Regions from separate parts of the Homo sapiens genome. Here region 1 is linked to region 2. Evidence: promoter capture Hi-C in 16 types of primary human blood cells and fetal thymus (Javierre and others, 2016). All regions are on one chromosome and are shown on one strand. Each heading gives the region's core, a stretch centred on a gene start or on the middle of the fragment in contact. The rest is flanking DNA. Distances are from core to core; before and after follow the strand shown.

What was found. Contacts are between HindIII fragments. The CHiCAGO score rates a contact against its expected background, and 5 or more counts as called.
Region 1: a contact is called between a fragment that was not itself captured here and the fragment with the promoter of AACS in region 2, in 1 of 17 cell types (neutrophils). The highest score is 5.6, in neutrophils.

The regions. Positions count from the first base shown.
Region 1 is chr12:124,955,383-124,960,048 of GRCh38, reverse strand. DHX37 (DEAH-box helicase 37) reads left to right here. Exons shown (of 27, transcript NM_032656.4): 17 at 2,914-3,020; 18 at 3,170-3,358. Among named protein-coding and RNA genes, the nearest start is that of TRA-TGC4-1, 18 kb to the right of the region's middle. The HindIII fragment of the contact is 8,476 bases long and covers 1-4,666 here.
Region 2 is chr12:125,063,208-125,068,157 of GRCh38, reverse strand. It overlaps AACS (acetoacetyl-CoA synthetase), which reads right to left and starts at 2,723. Exons shown (of 18, transcript NM_023928.5): 1 at 2,441-2,723. The coding sequence starts at 2,573. It overlaps LOC105370052 (a long non-coding RNA gene), which reads left to right. Exons shown (of 4, transcript XR_001749365.2): 3 at 3,048-3,155. RefSeq lists a silencer at 2,463-3,082. The HindIII fragment of the contact is 11,218 bases long and covers 1-4,950 here.

The sequences.
Region 1 (4,666 bases), core at 1,100-3,599, 110 kb after region 2:
GTGGGGCGTGCAGAACGTGCTGCCGGCTCTTCCTGGCTGCAGCCTTCTCCGACCCAGTCCTCCAGTGGAGGGGGGGATCCCTCTAGGGTCACCCTCCCTCCCCCTGCTCCAGGGCAGGCTAAGCCAGGCAGTGCCCCGTGCCACGCTGCGTGCTGTCCTGTGGGCGTTCAGATCCCCATTTAACTGATGAGGAAACGGAGGCAGGGAAGTGAAGGTTTTTGTCCAGGGACACACATCTAGTAAGTGACAGAACCCACATGGTCTCCTAGTGCCTTTTAAACATCTGTGCTCACTGATTTTTCTGGATGTTAATATGTTCAAAATCATAAAAACTTCAGATACTTGAGATCATCAGGGAGAAGGTGAAGCCCGTCCCACTGTCCGCCATTTGTGACCTGTGTCCCAGTTACGTTTCCAAACACATAACATCCTGTACTTTATTCCTGTGGTTTTGTGAATATTGTCTGATATGTTACACGCTGCTTTGGGGGCTTGATTTTTTCACCTAATAAAAATCATGGGTGCTGGCCGGGCCTGGTGGCTCACACCTGTAATCCTAGCACTTTGGGAGGCTGAGACATGTGGATTAGTTGAGGTCAGGAATTTGAGACCAGCCTGGCTAACATGGCAAAACCCCGTCTCTACTAAAAATACAAAAAAAAAAATTAGCCAGGGAGGCTGGGCGTGGTGGCTCACGCCTGTAATCTCAGCACTTTGGAAGGCCGAGGCAGGTGGATCACAAAGTCAGGAGTTCAAGACCAGCTTGGCCAACAAGGTGAAACCCCGTCTCTAGTAAAGATACAAAAAATTAGCTGAGTGTGGTGGCACACGCCTGTAATCCCAGCTACTCAGGAGGCTGAGGCAGGATAATCACTTGAACCCGGGAGGCGGAGGTTGCAATGGGCCGAGATTGTGCCATTGCACTCCAGCCTGGGTGACAGGGCGAGACTCCGTCTCCAAAAAAAAAAAAAAAAAGCCAGGTGTGGTGACAGGTGCCTATAATCCCAGCTACTTGGGAGGCTGAGGCAGGAGAATCACTGGAACCTGGGAGGCAGAGGTTGCAGTGAGCCAAGATCATGCCGTTGCACTCCAGACTGGGAGACAGAGCAAGACTCCGTCCCAAAAAAAAAAAAAAAAAGCTGGGTGCATTGGCTCACAGCACTTTGGGAGGCCGAGGCGGGTGGATCACAACATCAGGAGCTCGAGACCAGCCTGGCCAATATGGTGAAACTCCGTCTCTACTAAAAATATAAAAATTAGCCAGGCGTGATGGTGGGCACCTGTAGTTCCAGCTACTCGGGAGGCTGAGGCAGGAGAATTCTTGAACCCAAGAGGCAGAGGTTGCAGTGAGCCGAGATCACGCCGTTGCACTCTAGCCTGGGCGATATAGCAAGACTCCATCTCACAAAAAAAAAGAAAAAAAAGAATCATGGATGCCAAGTATGTGCTGGGCGTTCAGCACGTGTGACCTCAGGTTATCCTCCCAGCCACTCTAGGAGGGAGTTACTAGTGTTATCACCCCATTTTCCAGATGAGGAGCCTGAGACACTGAGACAGGCCTGACTGTGGGTCACGTGGATAAAAAGTGTCAGGGCTGGGCTGGGAGCTCAGTGTGGCTGGGAGCACTGTCGGGAGTGCCTCCCACAAGTGACATCAAGTCCACTCTGTAGAAACTCCGCAGTGGCTTCCCCTGGCTCTTGAGTCAGCTCCAGAGCAGGCCCCCTCCTGCCTTCCCCCAGACCTGGGTTCCTAGCATTGCCTCCTTACCTGCGTGCCTGCTGCAGGCTCACCACCCCGCCTCTAGCTTTATTGAGATAGAGTTCAGGCACCACACAGTCACCCATTGAAAGTGTGTGGGTCAGTAGTTTCCAGTGTGTTCACAAAGTTGTGCGGACATCACCACCGTGGCCATTTTCATCACCCCAGAAAGGAAGCATGTACCCTTTATCTGTCACCACCTCCCAGCTCCCTGGCCCCTGTGCCCACTCCTCTCCATGGATTTGCCAGTTTGGGACATTTCATGCAGATGGAATCCTACAATGCGTGGCCTTTGTGCCCGGCGTCTTTCCCTGAGTATGATGTTCTCAAGCTCCATCCGTGGTGTAGCGCGTGTCGCTGCTTCACTCCTATTCGCGGCTGAATCATTGTCCATTTTATGGGTGGCCCACGTTTTGTTCATGCACTCCTCCATTCAGAGACGCACAGGTTGCTTCCATCTTTTGGCTATTGTGATAAATTTATTCACGTTATTATTACTATTTTGAGATGGGGTCTCACTCTGTCACCCAGGCTGGAGTACAGTGGTGTGATCTCGGCTCACTGAAACCCCCACCTCCCAGGTTCAAATGATTCTCCTGTCTCAGCCTCCCAAGTAGCTGGGACTACAGGCGAGCGCCACCACACCCGGCTAATTTTTGTATTTTTAGTAGAGATGGGGGTTTCACCATATTGGTCAGGCTGGTCTCGAACTCCTGACCTCAGGTGATCTACCCGCCTCAGCCTCCCAAAGTGCTGGGATTACAGGCGTGAGCCACCGCACCAGGCCAATTTATTCGTATTATGCCTCACTGACTACCTGTGGCCCCTCCTGGTCAAATGACGCTCAGTCCTCATGAGTATAATAGTCTGTTAAAAACCGAAAAAAGCACCCAGCGGGGGCAAAGCACAGCCCTCAGTGCCTAGCCAGTGCTTGGGACGTGTTTTTGAGTGAATGGATGAGGTGAGTGAGTAAAGGAGGCCTTGGGGTTCCATTGGGACCTGGCCTTTGAGAGTGCCCCAGGCCCCTGTGTCCCCACTGGCATGAGCTGAGCCCGGAGAGAGGGGTTGGAGGGAGTGCCTGCCACAGACGGAGCAGGAGCACCGGACTTGTTCTTGGCATTCACCCTGTCCCTGCCACGTCTCCTTGTGTCCCAGGTCATCAACTTCCCCTTCCCGACGCCCCCCTCCGTGGAAGCCCTTCTTGCCGCCGAGGAGCTGTTGATCGCACTGGGTGCCCTGCAACCGCCCCAGAAAGCAGAAAGGTAAGGCCAAGAGATGCAGAGCCCAGTTCCTGCCCCGTTCAGGGCCCTCTCTCCCTTTTGCTGGGCCTGAGCTGCCTCAAGCGTGGGGCCTCCCAGCTGTGGCTCCAGAGCTCCTCTCAGAGCACTGCCACCACCACCTCCATCTCCAGGGTGAAGCAACTGCAGGAGAACCGGCTGAGCTGCCCCATCACTGCGCTGGGCCGGACAATGGCCACATTCCCCGTGGCACCCCGCTACGCTAAGATGCTGGCACTGAGCCGACAACACGGCTGCCTGCCCTATGCCATCACCATCGTGGCCAGCATGACGGTGCGGGAGCTGTTTGAGGAGCTGGACAGGTGCGAGGTTGGCGGCTGGGCACTCAGGGCCAAGCTCAGTTCCGACGGGGGCTCTGGGCTGAGAGTCCCAGCTACTCAGGAGGCTGAGGTAGAAGAATCATTTGAACCCAGGAGGTAGAGGTTGCAGTGAGCTGAGATTGTGCAACTGCACTCTAGCCTGGGCAACAGAGTGAGACCCTTCTCTAAAAAAAGAAAAAGAAAAGTGACACTAAGACTGTGAAAGTATGTTGAAAGTATGTTTAGTGCATTGTGTATTTAACAAAATTTACTTATAGATTATGACTACATGCTAATTCTTAGAATGAACAATTATTTAATAATTTCCTGGCATCCTATTGCGTAGATCTGCCTTTGGCAGCTTAATGATAAAAGGGGTCATTTCTGCAGAGATTTCTGGAAGCAACTTGAGTTTCTCAAGGGCTTGGTAAGTCTTCAGCGTTCACATCATTCCTCCTGAAACCGCCTTTCACGCCATCAGTTTTGACCATCTCTCCCTCAGCTGTGAGCCAGGCTTCTGCTGCCACCATCTCTCGTCCACTGTGAATGGTACAGGCAGGCCCACAATGTCACTTCATCGACTCTGTGAGCCTCTGCATCTTGTGCAAAGCCTGCTGCTTCCCTTAGGGTCAATCTGCCTGTGTTTGGACCATCTTGTCAGATGACAGAGCAGACACTAGTTGGGAAGGCAGTTAGGTGGACACTGGGGAATCTGTTGAGATCTGGATGGTTTTTCTTTGTTTATCCTCCACCACCTCCCCTCCCCGGTCCCACCCACCCTAACCAGGAACTTTGCTTTAGGCCACATCACTGCATGGGCCATTCCATACCGCAGCCACTAACCACACGTGGCCTCAGCCTGTGAAATGTGGCAGTTACGGCAACAAACTGACTTAAAACCTTACTTATTTTTAATAGTTTAAATTTAAACAGCCACATGTGGCTAGTGGCCACTGTATTGGCCAGTGCAGTTCCAGACGTTTCCCTGTGCTCTGCACGGACAGAGTTTTAATTTGAGGAAATGAGATCAGATGGTCCTGTATCTTTTCAGGGTCAGTGCATCTGAACTTCAAAAGCAGCTTTAGCCGGGCATGGTGGCTCACGCCTGTAATCCCAGCACTTGGGAGGCCGAGGCAGGCAGATCACTTGAGAGGTCAGGAATTTGAGACCAGCCTGGCCAACATGGTGAAACCCTGTCTCTACTAAAAATCAAAAAGCGGGCATGGTGATGGACACCTGTAATCCCAGCTATTCGTCAGAATCCCTTGGGGGAGAATAATAGGGTTCTCTGGAGAAACAGAAAGTGGTGTC
Region 2 (4,950 bases), core at 1,474-3,973:
AATGCAGGCAACTCAACAGTGTGTCTGGAGATGAGACCTGGCCCATGGGCCACCAGTCTGAGAGCCCTGAAGGAGGGAAAGGAGCTCCGCAGCCATGCTCGGGCCCTCCCAGCACTTGCTCATGTTTACTCCACAACCCCAGGGACCCAGGGCAGAGCTGAGCACTGGGCTTGACCATCTCCTGTCACCTGCACACCCACTCAATGACTCAGGTCCTGTTATGCCCATTTTACAGATGAGGAAACAAGGCATGAAGAGATCCAATGACTTCCTCCTGATCACACAGCTGGTAAGTGGTAGAGCTAGTTCAAAACCCAGGTAGTCGGCCGAGCACGGTGGCTCACACCTGTAATCCCAGCACTTTGGGAGGCCGAGGCAGGTGGATCACCTGAGGTCAGGAGTTCTAGACCAGCCTGGCCTACATGGTGAAACCCCGTCTCTACTAAAAATACAAAAATTAGCCGGGCATAGTGGCAGGCACCTGTAATCCCAGCTACTCGGGAGGCTGAGGCAGGAGAACTGCGTGAACCCAGGAGGCAGAGGTTGCAATGAGCCGAGATTGCGCCGTCGCACTCCAGCCTGGGGGAGAAAAGCGAGGCTTAAAAAAAAAAAAAATCCAGATAGTCAGATTACAAATCCCTTCTCTTCAACACTTCCCACGGAGGAAGGTGGTTTCACCCATCTAATAGGGCTGCCCGATCTGAAATTATTTCATAACATCAGGGCTAGACAGGCACCAGACCAGCATTCTGTTATTGCTGGCAGAGGAAACAGATGGAATCAAGGCAAGGTGACACAGAGGAAGAACATAATCCCACATGGCAGCCTCCTGCTTCTTCCAGGAGTCTCCAGGCTGCCCTAATCCAACACATACTCATTTACCAACTGCTGTCCAGAAGCCCCTGGGGCAACAGACTACACCTGTCTCCAAGGGAGAGGAAGGGAAGGAGAGGAACAGCTCTGGGTTAGCCTAGGAAAATGACTCTGTGGAAGCTCCCCACTGCTGTGGAGGGCCTGGAAGCTGCCAGGCAGCCGTCTGCAATTTTGTGGTCAACAAGGAACCACTGAGAACTTCTGAGCCAAGGAGTGACAAAGTAAGACCTGTATGCTTCAAGATTACTCTGGCAAAGCAAGCAGGATGCAAATGGATGGAAAAGCAGGAAGCAGGAAAACCAACCACTGTTTGGTGAGGAGGAAAGGAGGCCCCAGAACCCCTGACAAGGGGCTGCAAAGGAGGAGATGTGAGCGACATGGGGCTGTGGCAGAAGACTTCTGGTGCCACAGGTGACTGGGGTGTCCATCCCTGTGAGCCTGAGCAAGAACAGTGACGCCACCAACAGAAACAAGGGAGTCCCTGCGCCAGCGGAGGGGGTGAGGAGGGGAGACCATGAGTTAAAAATCCCCTAGGAGGCCAGGCGCCGTGGCTCACACCTGTAATCCCAGCACTTTGGGAGGCCAAGGCGATCGGATCACCTGAGGTCAGGAGTTCGAGACCAGCCTGACCAACATGGAGAAACTCCGTCTCTACTAAAAATACAAAATTAGCCAGGCGTGGTGGTGTATGCCTGTAATCCCAGCTACTCGGGAGGCTGAGGCAGGAGAATCACTTGAACCCGGGAGGCGGAGGTTGCAGTGTGCCGAGATCTCGCCATTGCACTCCAGCCTGGGCAACGAGAGAGAAACTGTCTCAAAAAAAAAAAAAAAAAATCCCCTAGGAATACCTAGGGGAGGCAGGGTGGAGGGGTGGAGCTGGTAGTTGGGCAAGCCAGCTAGAGCTCAGGAAGAGCACCCGGAGCGGTTACCCCACGGAGAAGGAGCCTTTGCCCCACCCGCACCGAGAGAGGCAGTTTCTGAGGTTCAAGGTGATGGGTGGAAAGAGAGTCTTTTACTAGGTTCTGTTTGGGGGCTGGGAGTGTAGACACGTGGACAGGGCCTCCTGCCTGACCATCCTGCTAGGTGCTGGCCTCCAGCAGGGGCAGCTGGAGATGAGGGAGGTCAGGGGGACAGAGTGCACGGCACTGGGGACTGGCAAGGGACCCCCACAAACAGAGGAAGAGCTGCAAGTCAAAAAGGCCCTATGTCCGGGGGAAGCCCCCACAGGCCGGAGGTCAAGACTCCAGGGAGCACCTCACAGGTAGGAAAGCCTAGCAAGGGGTCACACGGTCAACAGGCAGCTGGCCCTCCCGAGGGGTGACACTCCCGGGGAGAGGGTGACCCCCACATGCAGAGGAGACGCTGCAGAGTCAGGAAGTGCCAGGAGGTGCTGTGGAGGGGTGATGTTCCCCAAGACTGGGGGGAACCCCGCAGTCAGAAGGCCTCCCCGCCATCAAGTGGCTCCTCCAGCCCCAGAAGCGTGAAACTAGCCATGGGGAGACCACCCAACCACCCTGCACGGCTCCCGCCCATCCCCCGCAGGCCCGGCCGCGCGCCCGACTCTCACCCAGCGCCAGGCCGCAGGCGGCGCCCACAGCCGCCCGGAAGCGGTCCATCTGCGTGTTCTTCTTACTGTCAGGCTCCCACATCACCTGGCACTCCAGGATCTCCTCCCGACCGGGGCGCTCCTCCTTGGACATGGCGGCGGCGGGCGGCCGGGGCTGCGACGAGGGCTGGGGACCAGGGGCCGGGGCTGAGGCGAGGGCCGGGGACCTGGGACCGGAGGAAGCGACGGTCAGGAGCGCCTGGCGGGCTGGGTCAGCGACGGCGGCGGCGGGGAACAAGGGACTGAACGGCCGCCGCCGCCTCCTGCGGGCCGCTTGGCCCAGGCCCCGCCCCGCAGGCCCCGCCTCGAATCCCCGCCCCCTTCCAGGCCCCGCCCTCCCGCCTGTAACCCTCCGCTGAGTGCAGCGCCGCTCAAAGGAGTGCTCGCAGCCGCCGGCTCCAGCGCCCGCGGCCGGGGGGCGTGGGGGTGAGGGGCGCTCACGAGCCTTGGCCCCAGCTCCCCGACCTCACCTGGAGCTGGAGGGCGTTAGGGCAGCCGGAGAAGCCAGGCGTCCGAGCCCGCTGTTTCCTACACGTGTACATCATTCATTCGCTATTTCTTCCTGCAGGTCTTTACTGAGAGCCTGCGGCATTCGGAGGACTTTGGGAGCTTTGCGGATACAGCAGCGAACAAAACAAAATTCTTGTTCTCTGTCAACAGGAGAGGAGGGGTACAGGTGTGAGGAAGACGGGAGACGATTAACAAATAAGTACATCGTGTACATACACAAGATAATGTCATAGTATAATACAATAATATACATAGTATGCCAATGGGTATCAAAATACACATTTGTGAAAGGAAAATAAATCTTGGGGCCCCACTACTAAGCTAAAGGGAAAAGAAAAGCTGGGAACTGCTTAGGGCTAACCTGCCTCCATTCTATTCAAAGTCACCCCTCTGCTGAGTTAAATGCACACCTGATTGCCTCCTTTGCAGAGGCTAATTGAAAACTCAAAAGAATGCAGCCATTTGTCCCTTATCTACCTATGACCTGGAAGGCCCCCTCCCCGCCTTAGCTTTTTTTTTTTTTTTGAGTCTCACTCAGTCGCCCAGGCTGGAGTGCAATGTCCCAATCTCAGCTCACTGTAACCTCTGCTTCCCAGGTTCAAGCGATTCTCCTGCCTCAGCCTCCTGAGTAGCTGGGATTACAGGCACACGCCATCATGCCCAGCTAATTTTTCGTGTTTTTTTTTTTGTTGTTGTTGTTGTTTGTTTTGTTTTTTTGAGACGAAGTTTCGCTCTTGTTACCCAGGCTGGAGTGCAATTGCGAGATCTCGGCACACGGCAACCTCCATCTCCCAGGTTAAAGCAATTCTCCTGCCTCAGCCTCTCGAGTACCTGGGATTACAGGCATGTGCCACCACGCCTGGCTAATTTTGTATTTTTAGTACAGACAGGGTTTTTCCATGTTGGTCAGGCTGGTCTCCAACTCCCGGCCTCAGGTGATCCGCCCGCCTCAGCCTCCCAAAGTGCTGGAATTACAGGCGTGAGCTACCGAGCCCGGCTCATTTTTGCATTTTTGTAGAGACGGGATTTCACCATGTTGGCCAGGCTGGTCTTGAAGTCCTGACCTCAGGTGATCCACCCGCCTCGGCCTCCCAAAGTGCTGGGATTACAAGAGTGAGCCCAGGTCTGAGAGCACCCCCTCCAGAGCCTCCCTGATCTCCCAAAATTTGGTGGAGATCTAAAGTTTATTTTGCTGTACAACTCTTTTCTTTGCAGTTTTACTTGCTTCCAACAAGGAAGGCAAGGTTTCCTGCTTCCATGACAATGGAAGGCAGGTAACTCCTTTATGGAGTTTGAGCTCGCTTCCAACAGGGAAGATGAGGTCTTTTTTCCTGCTTCTAGAATGGTAGAGAGCAGTCTACAGCCTAAGACCCATCCCTAGGTAAGTAACTGAATTGGGGTTTGTCTTGGCTAAAGTTAAGGTTAACAGCCAGCTGGTCTTAATGTCAGAGGCATTTGAACCAGAGCAACTCCATCTTGAGTGGGGGCTGGGTAAAATGAGGCTGAGATCTACTAGGCTCCATTCCCAGACAGTGAAGGCATTCTAAGTCACAGGATGAGACAGGAGGTCGGCACAAAATACAAGTCATAAACACCTTGCTGATAAAACACGCTGCAGTAAAAAAGCCGGCTAAATCCTACCAAAACCAAGGTGGTGATGAGAGTGACCTCTGCTTGACTTCACTACTACACTCCCATCAGCACCATGACAGTTTACAAATGCCATGGCAATGTCAGGAAGTTACTCTATATGGTCTAAAAAGGGGAGGCATGAATAGTCCACCCCTTGTTTAGCATATCATCAAGAAATAACCATGAGAATGGGCAACCAGCACCCCTCAGGGTGCTCTGTCTATGGAGTAGCCATCTTTTTATTCCTCTACTTTCCTAAGGAACTTGCATTTGCTTTAGTCTGTAGACTCGCCTTGAATTCTTTATTGCGTGAGATCCAAAAACCCTCT